2 separate regions of the Homo sapiens genome follow, and region 2 is linked to region 1. The links are contacts of gene promoters, found by promoter capture Hi-C in blood cells and fetal thymus (Javierre and others, 2016). All regions are on one chromosome and are shown on one strand. The core of a region is centred on a gene start or on the middle of the fragment in contact, and the rest is flanking DNA. Distances in the headings are between cores, read along the strand shown.

Region 1 (4,284 bases), core at 55-2,554:
GGCCTCCAGAAGCCGAATAAGGGAGTAGTGGCGCAATGCGTAGAAACTACCTCCGGAAGCTCTTTTTGAATCTCGGTTCCAGCACCCGCAACGCAGAGCGCGAACCTGAGGCTCCATCTTTCGGGTTTTACTCCGGCTGGCTAGCGCTTCCGGGAACCCTGCGAGGCCGCCGCCAGCCGAGAATCCGCCCCGCCTTCCCTGCAGGCGATCCCTACTCCAAATAGTAGTTCCCGGGCCGGAAGCTGGAAAGCCCTCGAAGCAGGAAAAAGCCTCATCCAGGCCCCCCAGTTCTCGGGAGCAGCTCCAGCTTTCCTTCCCCAACCTAGAGCAAACTTCTCTTCCCTGCAGCTCCCCTCCCCCCCTTCATTAAAGTTATATTGAAGGTGCTAAGTGCTGCACTCTAATTGGGTTTCCTTCAGGGGAGACCCTGTGCCCCCCGGCCCCAACCCGTCCTGTCTAATAGAAATCCCCGAGCTGCAACCGCGAATTAAATAGATGAACTCGTTACCGTAAACTTGCAATAAAGCCCGGAGGCGACTGCTGCGGAGGGGGCAAAAGAAGGTTTCGTTGTTTTTGAAATTTATACCATTCTCACCCTCCCGAACAGTCGCTCTCCAGGGAAGAGGGGAGAAAGCTCGGGAGCGGCCCCGGGCCTCTAGCCCAAAAGCAGGACACCCCGCCCCTCCCCCCAGGCACTGGCCTGGGCCTGAGACAGATTTAAAACATCCAATGAGGAACCGATGCCAGCCTTTCTTCCTCTCTCCCTACCAGTTAGTTCTGTGTAGAGGGGATGAGGGGGAGGGGACGAAGTGGTCGGGGGAGAGTGAGGGAAAGAATTCCACCATTACCTTCTCTCCTCCCCTAAACTGCCCCCGAACTGGGAGGTGCACAGGGGGCAGCAAAAGAGTTTAATCGCCCCTAGAATAATGCTGGCGCCCAGCCTGGGGGGAGGGTCAGGGACTTTGCCATTGAACTTGAAGTTCCAGGCTGGTGGTCTCCACCGCCCCCGCCCCCATTTTCCTAAAAGTTTTATGGGAAGAGGGAGGAAGGTGAGGGGAAGAGAGGACTTCTCTGGCCTTGGGAAAGAGGGAGGAAGCCAATCAGGGGAGGAAGGGCCACAGCAACCAGGAGGTCCAGGGAGATTCGGAGGTTTGCGGGGAGGCGAGGAGGCTGCTGGGAGGAGACACTCCAGCTTTCGCCCCTACTTGCAGCTATGAGGTGGGGAGCCACCAACCGCAGGCCTTCTTACTGAGCCCCGCCCCAGACTCTACAGGGAGAGGGGCACCCAGTGCTGTGCTCCCGTCCTTCCTCTCCTAGCCTAAGGCGTGCAAACAGAGCGCCACTGGGAGGCTGAAACCTTTAGGCCGATGCTTGCTTGCAAGGTCAGGCAAGCTGGATTCTGGTCCCCACCTTTGCAGAGAGAACAGCGATGTTGTGCGCCCATTTCTCAGATCAAGGACCGGCCCATCTTACTACCTCCAAGAGTGCTTTTCTCTCTAATAAGGTAAACTGATCGGTGGGCCAAGGGCGTTATCGACGGATCGCTCAGTATGGTAGCTGCATCAGGAGGCCCTGGGAGAGGGTCTCCCAGGAATTTGGGAGCCTTCAGAAGTTTTGGGAAACAAGGGAAGGGTGAGCAGCAGGCTTTCACCGATACCACCTGGCGGGAGCACCTACTCGCGGTTCCTGGAGAGACCGGCAGCCGCCCTGGGCAGAAAGGGACAAAGAAAATGTTTCGCAGCACGCGGGACCTGCAGGACCTAGGCGGGGGAGAGGCTTGGGAGTGGGAACTAGCACCCGCTGTAAGGTCTGCCATAAGACTTAATGTTTGTCTCCAATGGGATGGAGTCCTGGCATAAGCAAAATTAATATTGATAACGTTATTATTATTTAAAATTTGTAAATATTGTAAAATATTTTAGAAAACATCTACTTTGAAACATCTACTGGGCGAGACCAGGAGTGATGGCTCAGCCTGTAATTCTGGAATTTCGGGAGGCCGAGGCAGGAAGATTCCTTGAGCACAGGAGTTCCAGACCAGCCTGGGCAATGTAGCAAGACGCTGTCTCTATTTATACAATAAAATTTTTTTAAAAAAGGAAACTGGGTGAAAGTTAACTGTGATTATAACAATTTTTCTTTTTTAAACTAACTCATCCTTAAGGCAAAAGCTCTGGGCCTTAAAAAAATAAAAACGGGCCAGGCATAGTGGCTCATGGCTGTAATCCCAGCACTTTGGGAGGCTGAAGTGGGCAGATAACTTGAGGCCAAGAGTTTGAGATCAGCCTGGCCAACATAGTGAAAACTGTCTCTACTAAAAATACAACAATTAGCTGGGCATGGTGGCTCACACCTGTAATTCCAGCTACTCAAGAGGCTGAAGCACAAGAATTGCTCGAACCTGGGAGGTGGAGGTTGCAGTGAGCTGAGATTATGCCATTGCACTCCAGCCTATGTGACAGAGTGAGACTCTGTGACAAATAATAATAATAATAATAATTGCACCTTTTTCTCTGGGCCCCTGGCTTCCTTATTCCCTTTCCTGCACCCTCTCAGAAGCTCTGCCTTGCCAAGTGTGGGATCAATGCCACAGCAGGCATGTGTGCGCACAGGGGCTCTGGGTCCAGTACAGAAGCAGGCTGGGGACCACATGCTCACATCTTCAGCCAACCACTGATATTGCCAAGTCATTGGTCTTGGGGTGGGCACAGTAATCCACAAAAACACTCAGGACTCACCTAACTCTCTTCTCCCCACAGCTGGCTCCTTCCCTGCCAGTTCCCCCTCCCATAATGACAAAACCCACAATTGAGTGAGCACTTTATAACCTAAAGAAATTGAAACTAAGAGGGTAAGTTACTTGATCTGGGTCCCAAAACAGGAGCGCTTAACCTCTACCACCAACTGAAAAAATAGAAAGCCCAGGGACTCCTCTATTGTCAACATACCTCTCCCTGCAAGGCCCTTCAGACACTAACAAGCACCTGCTTCCATCCGGAGTCACCCAGCTGAGATCACACAGGTGCACCCAAACACCCTAGACCCAGCCCCTCCTCAGGCACTGGACAGATCTGCATATATGCAAACAGGGGATTAAACACGTGTGGACATTTTTGTCAACCAACTACTCATTAATTGAGTATGCAAAATCTTCCACTAGGGGTGGAAGACAGGAGGAAAGAGTTGGAAATATGCTCTCCCTTCCCACCAGGCCTGACTCCTATGCTGGTAAATCTTGGGTCTGCAGCTTCCCCATATGTGACCTGAGGCCAGAGGATTTTATTCCATGACCAAATGACTACAATCAGAACAAATGGGGAACAGGACGGGGAACAGGGAAAGAGAAAGATACACACACACACAGACAAGCAAGGCTTCTGGGAGTCTTCCCTGGAGAAGATGCTTGGAATATCAAATCCGGGAGGGAAGATGTGAACAAAACTCGGAGGAGGCCAGAAAATGCAGGTCGCGGTGGATAGAAGGACGGTGCGGATCCTTACTCCGGGTGAGCTAGAGCTGGCCAGGCAGAGAGCAGGGGCATCTCACAGGGTCCTGGACCCCCAGGCGAAGCCTGGGCAGTAATCAGACGTCCCCTTGCCCACTCAGAGGCTGATCGCCTTACCCTCATCCAGGCGGGCACACACCCGCACTACTCGCCAAACTCCGCAGACCCCAGGCTGAGGGCAGAGAGGCAGCTCTTGGTCTGCGGGGTCCGTACCCATCCTGTGGGCCCTCAGCTCCCCATCTCTAGGTGGGCCCAGCCCGTCGCCCCCGCCCGAGACCTGCGTCCAGCCTTTGTCATGTTGATGGCTGAAGCTCGCCGCACCTCCCATTCCAGGCAGGTTTTTGTCATTGAACTTGAGTCAGGCTATAAACATTCCTTCACCCCTCCGGAGCCAGGCCGAGACGCGGAGGGGTGGAGGGGAAGGGCGGAGGGGGCTGTGGAGCGACCCGAAACGCGAGAAACCGGGCCTCGCGCGGCTTTATCAAAGAGCTTCCAATCCTTGCCTTCCGGGGAACACCCGCCGGGCCTGCAGCTAAAAGCCGGATTCTTGAGGCCATCCGGCAAGTCAGGCCAATGTTTTGGTCGGGATCGACATGGTGTAACTTTTTCTGTTTTCCTCCTTGGCATTTCATGTTCGTTTACCTTATTCTAGGCAGTCTAATCCTTAATTTATTTTAATAATCAGGATAAACAGATGCGTACACAAACGAATACTAGCTAAGGCCGATGATTTATTAGAGAATGTTCGAGTCGGTCGTAACGAGGCCGTCGCCGCTCGG
Region 2 (5,850 bases), core at 1,478-3,977, 430 kb after region 1:
TATGGATAAATTTGTGCCAGACACAAAAATATTAAATATATCCAAATAGAGCAATGTTTACCCATAAACAGCGAAAATGGAAAAAAAAAAAAAAGAGGAAGTGACTCACTGCTATGAGAGGCTTTGGAAACTGAAGACATTTCCTGATCTGCAGCAAGCTTTCTGTGACCTAGGTGAAAAACGGCAAGCTTATTGTAAAAGAAAAAAAGTATCTTTAAAGATGGACTCAGAATTTTTTGAATCCTTTCAATTGCTTGCCTAGGATGTCATGACCTTCCTTTTCTTTTTTCAAAGTATGACTTTTTTCTCCTTATCATATGCTACAATTTTTAGGTCCCTGCTTTAAAAAGAAAGGAAATACAAGTTGTAGTTTATGTTCAAATTACTAGTTTCTCTTTTTAGTTTAAAGTACAATAAGTCTTCTTCCTTAACACAAGTAAGGTTTGCACTGTCACTTCCAGATTTAGACGTCTATGGAATCAGAAAGCAGTGCTGAACTTGACTGTGATCTTGCCCGATTGAAGTCAACTTCCTTTGCCCAGTTGCTTCGTGCAAAACATAGTGATCATATAAGAGTCTAGCAGAGGGCTTTCTACAGGTTGTTTCATTCTCTGTTTTAGACTTTTGTGCCTAAAACTACTGGTCTGTTAGTCATTTAAATTTTTACAAATAGCCATTTAAGTTGGGAAAAAATAAGCAGTACCAAAAGCTATTTTACTTTGGCATAGATGCAGCCTTTGTCATGCTGGCTCTTTTTGTCACATAGGTGTACCATCATATACCCTTACCATGTGTCAGATGAGCCATGGGGACATTCCTGGAAAGAACTTTAAGGAATCAACATTCCATATTTTCCTCTCAAAGTAACTGTTGCTACTATATATTGACATGTCCAGATTTAGGCCACTTTTGAAAACTTGTGAGTCAAATCACATGGAGGTGATGCTGAAGTATCATCACCACGTAACAGCCATAATTGATGTCTTGGGAACTTGAAGACTATACTATATAGGTCATGTACTATGTAGGGCATCTATTTATGTGTATAACATGTCATAATTTCCCCACACCCAAATTTCTGTGACTTTTGGAGGAATCTTGATAATTGCTTTCTACACAGATTTTGGTTTAGACTTCTGCGAAAACCCTGAATTGAATAGCTGTGGGTTTCACAAATTACATGCATGTAAACAACATACCTTTGAAAGGAGGATGTGTGGACCCTTTCTCCTATATGCTTATGTCTCTGTTGTCGTAGATTGGCGTCCTTTGTGAGCTATTCAGTGACATTTCAGAACCATTTTGCTCTGCAGAAAACCCGCAGTTGTGTTTCTTTAGCTGACACTGTGGCACTTGCACTCGAAATTGCTAGTTAGAAAAAAAAATTGTTGAGGCCGGTGGCTGTAATCAGCGTTGTTGCTGTCTGTTTCCTCAGACTAATAGCAGAGAGATCCGAGTCTGAGAGTTCAAACAGAGGTTATCTTTCCCAGGTAGCATCTCGTCCAACGAGAATTTGATTTTTTTCTATAGGACTTTACTCCATTAGATTAATGAAATTTCAATGAGAGCCTGGCGCCCCCTGAAGCTTTGTTAAGAAAACAAATGGTGATTCTGTAGGTGTGACAGCTTGCTTGGAGAGTTACCAGAAGGTGAATACATCCCCACAATCCAGGCAGCCTGGAACACATTGATCTCTATTTAAAGCACCAATCGGATTTTTGTTAATTATAAATGATTGATCTGCAGTTTTTTCCTCTCTCTCCTCTTATATGTGTGGTTCCCCCTCCTTCCCGCACTTCTAACTTCTTTGCATGCTGAGCGCAGAGCTTTTTGTTTAAAGGAACAATCATAGAGAGCAAATTATAGCAATACCCGGCAGCAATGCTGCTGTGAATGTCAATGTCAGAGCGTTCACTGTTCATCCGACAAAGGTGAGCCCTGAAGTAGATTTCAGTCTGACTCCATGTTCCCTCTTTACTTAGCTTATTCCTAAAATAAGGGATGATTTTAACAAAAAGAAAAGCATAGAATCACTAGAATAGTATTATAGATGCTATCATTATTACGTTTTAAAAGCTGACTTGTAAGCCTTGTACACCAATTCCACAGTGCTAACTCAGAACCTCGTATGTACCAGGATATGATGTGTGATCAAGCAAGCCCGTGTGGGACAACTAGGGAAATATCTAAGGGATATCCAAGGAATATCTTAAGTAAACTAAGGGAATATCTCTGACCTTAAATCTCAATTTATAGGCATTTAGGTGATTAATACACCTTTTATCATCTCTGTGGAGTAGTTTTAAAATAATGTTTAGAAGGCTTACTGAATTCAAAAACAGACACATGTATTATTCCTGATAATTGCTCACCACACATAGTTCTGAAGACCACAGAAGAACATTCCAAGCTTCTTTGTGGATCTATTTTAGTGAAAGTATCTGAGCTTTAAATGTATTTATTTATTGAATATAAAAGTACGTAATTCCTTCTAGTTATTTATAACATATACAATACATAAAGAAGTTAATTTATGCAGCTCTTGGAAAACATATTTGTAAAAATTACAGCTTAAGGATTACAGATATTAATATATTATATTGAAAACTACATAGATTTCACAATCTAACTCAAATGTAGATTTTTTATGAATGTGTCTTTCTTAAGTTTGAGCCTTTAATTAAGTTTTACGACGTATATTTTCAAGTTAGAAAAATGAACTTGCCCCAGTGTGCTTTTTTAAAAATTGTCTAAATAATCCACAAGAGATTGTTCTAGACCAAGAATCTTACAGTAGTTTATAGTTTGCAGTGACAATCCTCTTCAAAATCCTTTAGATTTGAAAAATTGTTACCTCATTTATTTGTTCTGAAACTTTGCTTAACTTCCTTATGAGTTGCAGTATCAGTAATTGTGTATGATAAATTCAACAGCATAAGAGTAATTCTGCCTTTAAAGCAGCAGCATGAAATGGTCAAGACCTGCAGTATAACTTACCATATCTCCCCATGCCCAAAATTCAGTGACTTTCTGAAGAAGCTTGCTATTGCTTTATGAACAGGTTCAAAGTCTATAATACTCATCCAAATATGAGAGGTGTTCTGACAGAACTTCCCCATAAGGTAATTATTTAATAATCTTGTAAATACTGTTGGGAAGACTAGATTTAAAGTATAATTTTGTGATGTAGTATTTTTTCTTGGTATCTTAAAATATGTATTTTTTCTTTTTATTGTTGCTTATTGTGTTTATCTCATTTTAAATTAGCAAAACTCATGAAGGCATATTTATAAATAGTTGTAACTATGACTTTTAAAATCAGATTTTGAATCAGCCAGAAAAAAAGCGATGTGTTTTTGTTTTTTTGGTTTTTTTTACAAATGTTAGCACATCAGAATAGTTGTTAACATCAATGACTAAACGATTGACCAATGACAACATTAAGAAATGAGTGATCATGACAAATTCACCAAGTTACTTTCATGAAATGCTTCCAGAGGGCTGATTTTAAAATGTTTTAATTTTATCCCTGTTGGAAGTTTTCTTTTTTCTTTTCTTTCTTTCTTTCTTTTTTTTTTTTTTGAATAGGCTAAACTAATGATTTTCATTAGTGTATTTGTGATTTATGTGATTTTAGTAGGTTATACCAAGGTTAAATAATTTAAAGAAATAAACCCTTATCTGATATAAGATAGCTAATGAAGTATATTAGATACTTGCCCTATTGCTATATGAAGTGGATCTCCAAAGCTAACAACAGCTTTCTGCAGGAACACAAATCTCTATATAAATATCCAAATGTAGCAAGATGTTGCAAATTTTTAAAGATATGCCATAAAAATAGATTAACGCTAGTATGCAGTCCTGTTCAACTGAATTACAAAGGGATATCATGGGATTGCCAGTGACATTCACATAAATAAAAAATCAATTCTTAATGATGAGGCAGACTTGTTTTAGCGCATTACCCAGGTTAAATGAGAGCGCACAAAGACATCAACTCCTATAAGACTAGCGGAATCATTGTATATTAATATGATTTAGGGAGCTACACACCTCAATGGAATAATTGTTATTATATCTATAGAGCCAGATGGCACTTGGTGTAAACAGCCATTGAGCACCTCAAACACAAGTGTGGCAGGTGATCTTTAAGATGTTCTTGCATCCTGCTCACTCATCTTATCATTGGAATCTGCGTTACTGTTTGCAGAATGATTTGATTGCCAGTACGCAAATTTTTCAGAATGGTGCTGTTGTTCAATAGGAACCTAAGAATATAGAATGTCCTCAGCAAGAGAATAGATGAAGCAGAATAGATGAGGCAGCTGTCTGGATTTGTGTGGGTTAGCACTGAATTTTTTACAAGAAAGAGAACAGAGAGAGTAATTTTTTTTTCCAGCACCAGTGGCCCCAAAATTCAGAAATTTTAAAAATTAACTCTCAAATTTTCAGTGAAGTGGGCTTTAGTAATTACTATTTTCAAAGTAACCCCATGAAGGTGGTCAACAGGTATAAAAATTTGTGCTTGCAAAGTTAGAGAAATGCAAGTTCTGAGCAAAAGTTTATGATTTTGTTTTTGTTTTTGTTTTTGTTTAAGACAGGGTCTACTCTGTCACCCAGGCTGGAGTGCAGTGGTGCCATCATAACTCATTGCAGCCTCAAACCCCTCCTGCCTCAGCCTCCTGAGTAGCTGGGATTACAGGCGCATGCCACCACAGCCAGCTAATTTTTTGTCTTTTGAAACATTCTCACCATGTTGCCCAGGCTGGTCTCAAACTCCTGGCCTCAAGCGACCCTCCTGCCTTTGCCTCCCAAAGTGTTGAGATTACAGGTGTGAGTCACCACACCAGGTCAGAAGTGTCTTTAATTTTTTGTAAAATATTTTTCTTTTCTTTGAATATTTAAAATTGACTTCTGCTAACCCTAATTATCCAGTTACAGAAATCTCATTCATTTATTCAACAGATATTTACTGGGCACCTACTATGTGCCAGGTACTGTTCTAGGCACTGGAGATATGTCAGTGGAAAACCCTGCCTTCACATAGTTTGCATTCCTCAGGGGGCAATAAATGAAATGACATGATGTAATGTAAACTATGTGAGAAATAAAATAGGGAAGAGAGACAAAGTGTGCTAAGGTACAGTGTAAAGCTTAAGATTTGCCTTTCCTTCCTCAAGAACATAAAACAGATTATCCGGGAAGAATAAAAGAGGCTGGGGAAGTTCTTGTTTATCTTCTGACTTAATCGATCTTGTGAAATTCTAGTGCATTGTCTGATAACCCACCTGCTGTTATAGCCTCAGCTCAGCAGCCAGGGTTAAATAGTTGGAATGAGTGTTCAGTGTAAGCTTAGATTATTGGCTTGAATTAAATTTAATAATGTTACATAATTTTTTAATGGTTTTGTTTCTTTCCTCTGATAATAACATTAAAAAACATACCATCTTTAGTTACAAATAATTCTTGAATTGCCCCTTTCTCTACCTTGTAACCCATGTTTAGTTTCTAATCATCAAGGACATGAAACTGGCCTCATAGACGAATTGTTATCATAGTAGATTTAGTGGACTTTGATATCCAAACATATGAAACAGATTTTTCAAGTATCTAAAATAGAGAATGTGCCTCAAAATTTTGAGATCTTATAAATCCATCTGTCCCTTAATAATAAAATTCATACTAATTCTGAGAATATTTCCATCACCCACTTCAGGGTACTATTGACTGCTTAACTCCTGGATTTTAAACTAATGTTCAGTTCTTCAGCAGATGTAGTTTATTATATAACTGCAGCCACTCTTTAGGTGAAACATGGTACATGTTCTGAAATACTCCTTTAGTTTA

What was found. The method cuts DNA at HindIII sites, captures the fragments that hold promoters and counts their contacts. A CHiCAGO score of 5 or more calls a contact.
Region 2: a contact is called between a fragment that was not itself captured here and the fragment with the promoter of PRAC1 in region 1, in 1 of 17 cell types (M2 macrophages). The highest score is 5.3, in M2 macrophages.

Annotation. Positions count from the first base shown.
Region 1 is chr17:48,719,538-48,723,821 of GRCh38, reverse strand. It overlaps PRAC1 (PRAC1 small nuclear protein), which reads left to right and starts at 1,304. Exons shown (of 2, transcript NM_032391.3): 1 at 1,304-1,504; 2 at 1,923-2,103. The coding sequence starts at 1,430. The coding sequence ends at 2,021. It overlaps PRAC2 (PRAC2 small nuclear protein), which reads right to left and starts at 637. Exons shown (of 2, transcript NM_001282275.2): 1 at 509-637. RefSeq lists enhancers at 328-843, 844-1,358. The HindIII fragment of the contact is 8,116 bases long and covers 1-4,284 here.
Region 2 is chr17:48,289,865-48,295,714 of GRCh38, reverse strand. All of the region lies in intron 4 of SKAP1 (src kinase associated phosphoprotein 1), which reads left to right. SKAP1-AS2 (SKAP1 antisense RNA 2) reads right to left here and starts at 1,368. Exons shown (of 2, transcript NR_131240.1): 1 at 1,200-1,368. The HindIII fragment of the contact is 629 bases long and covers 2,413-3,041 here.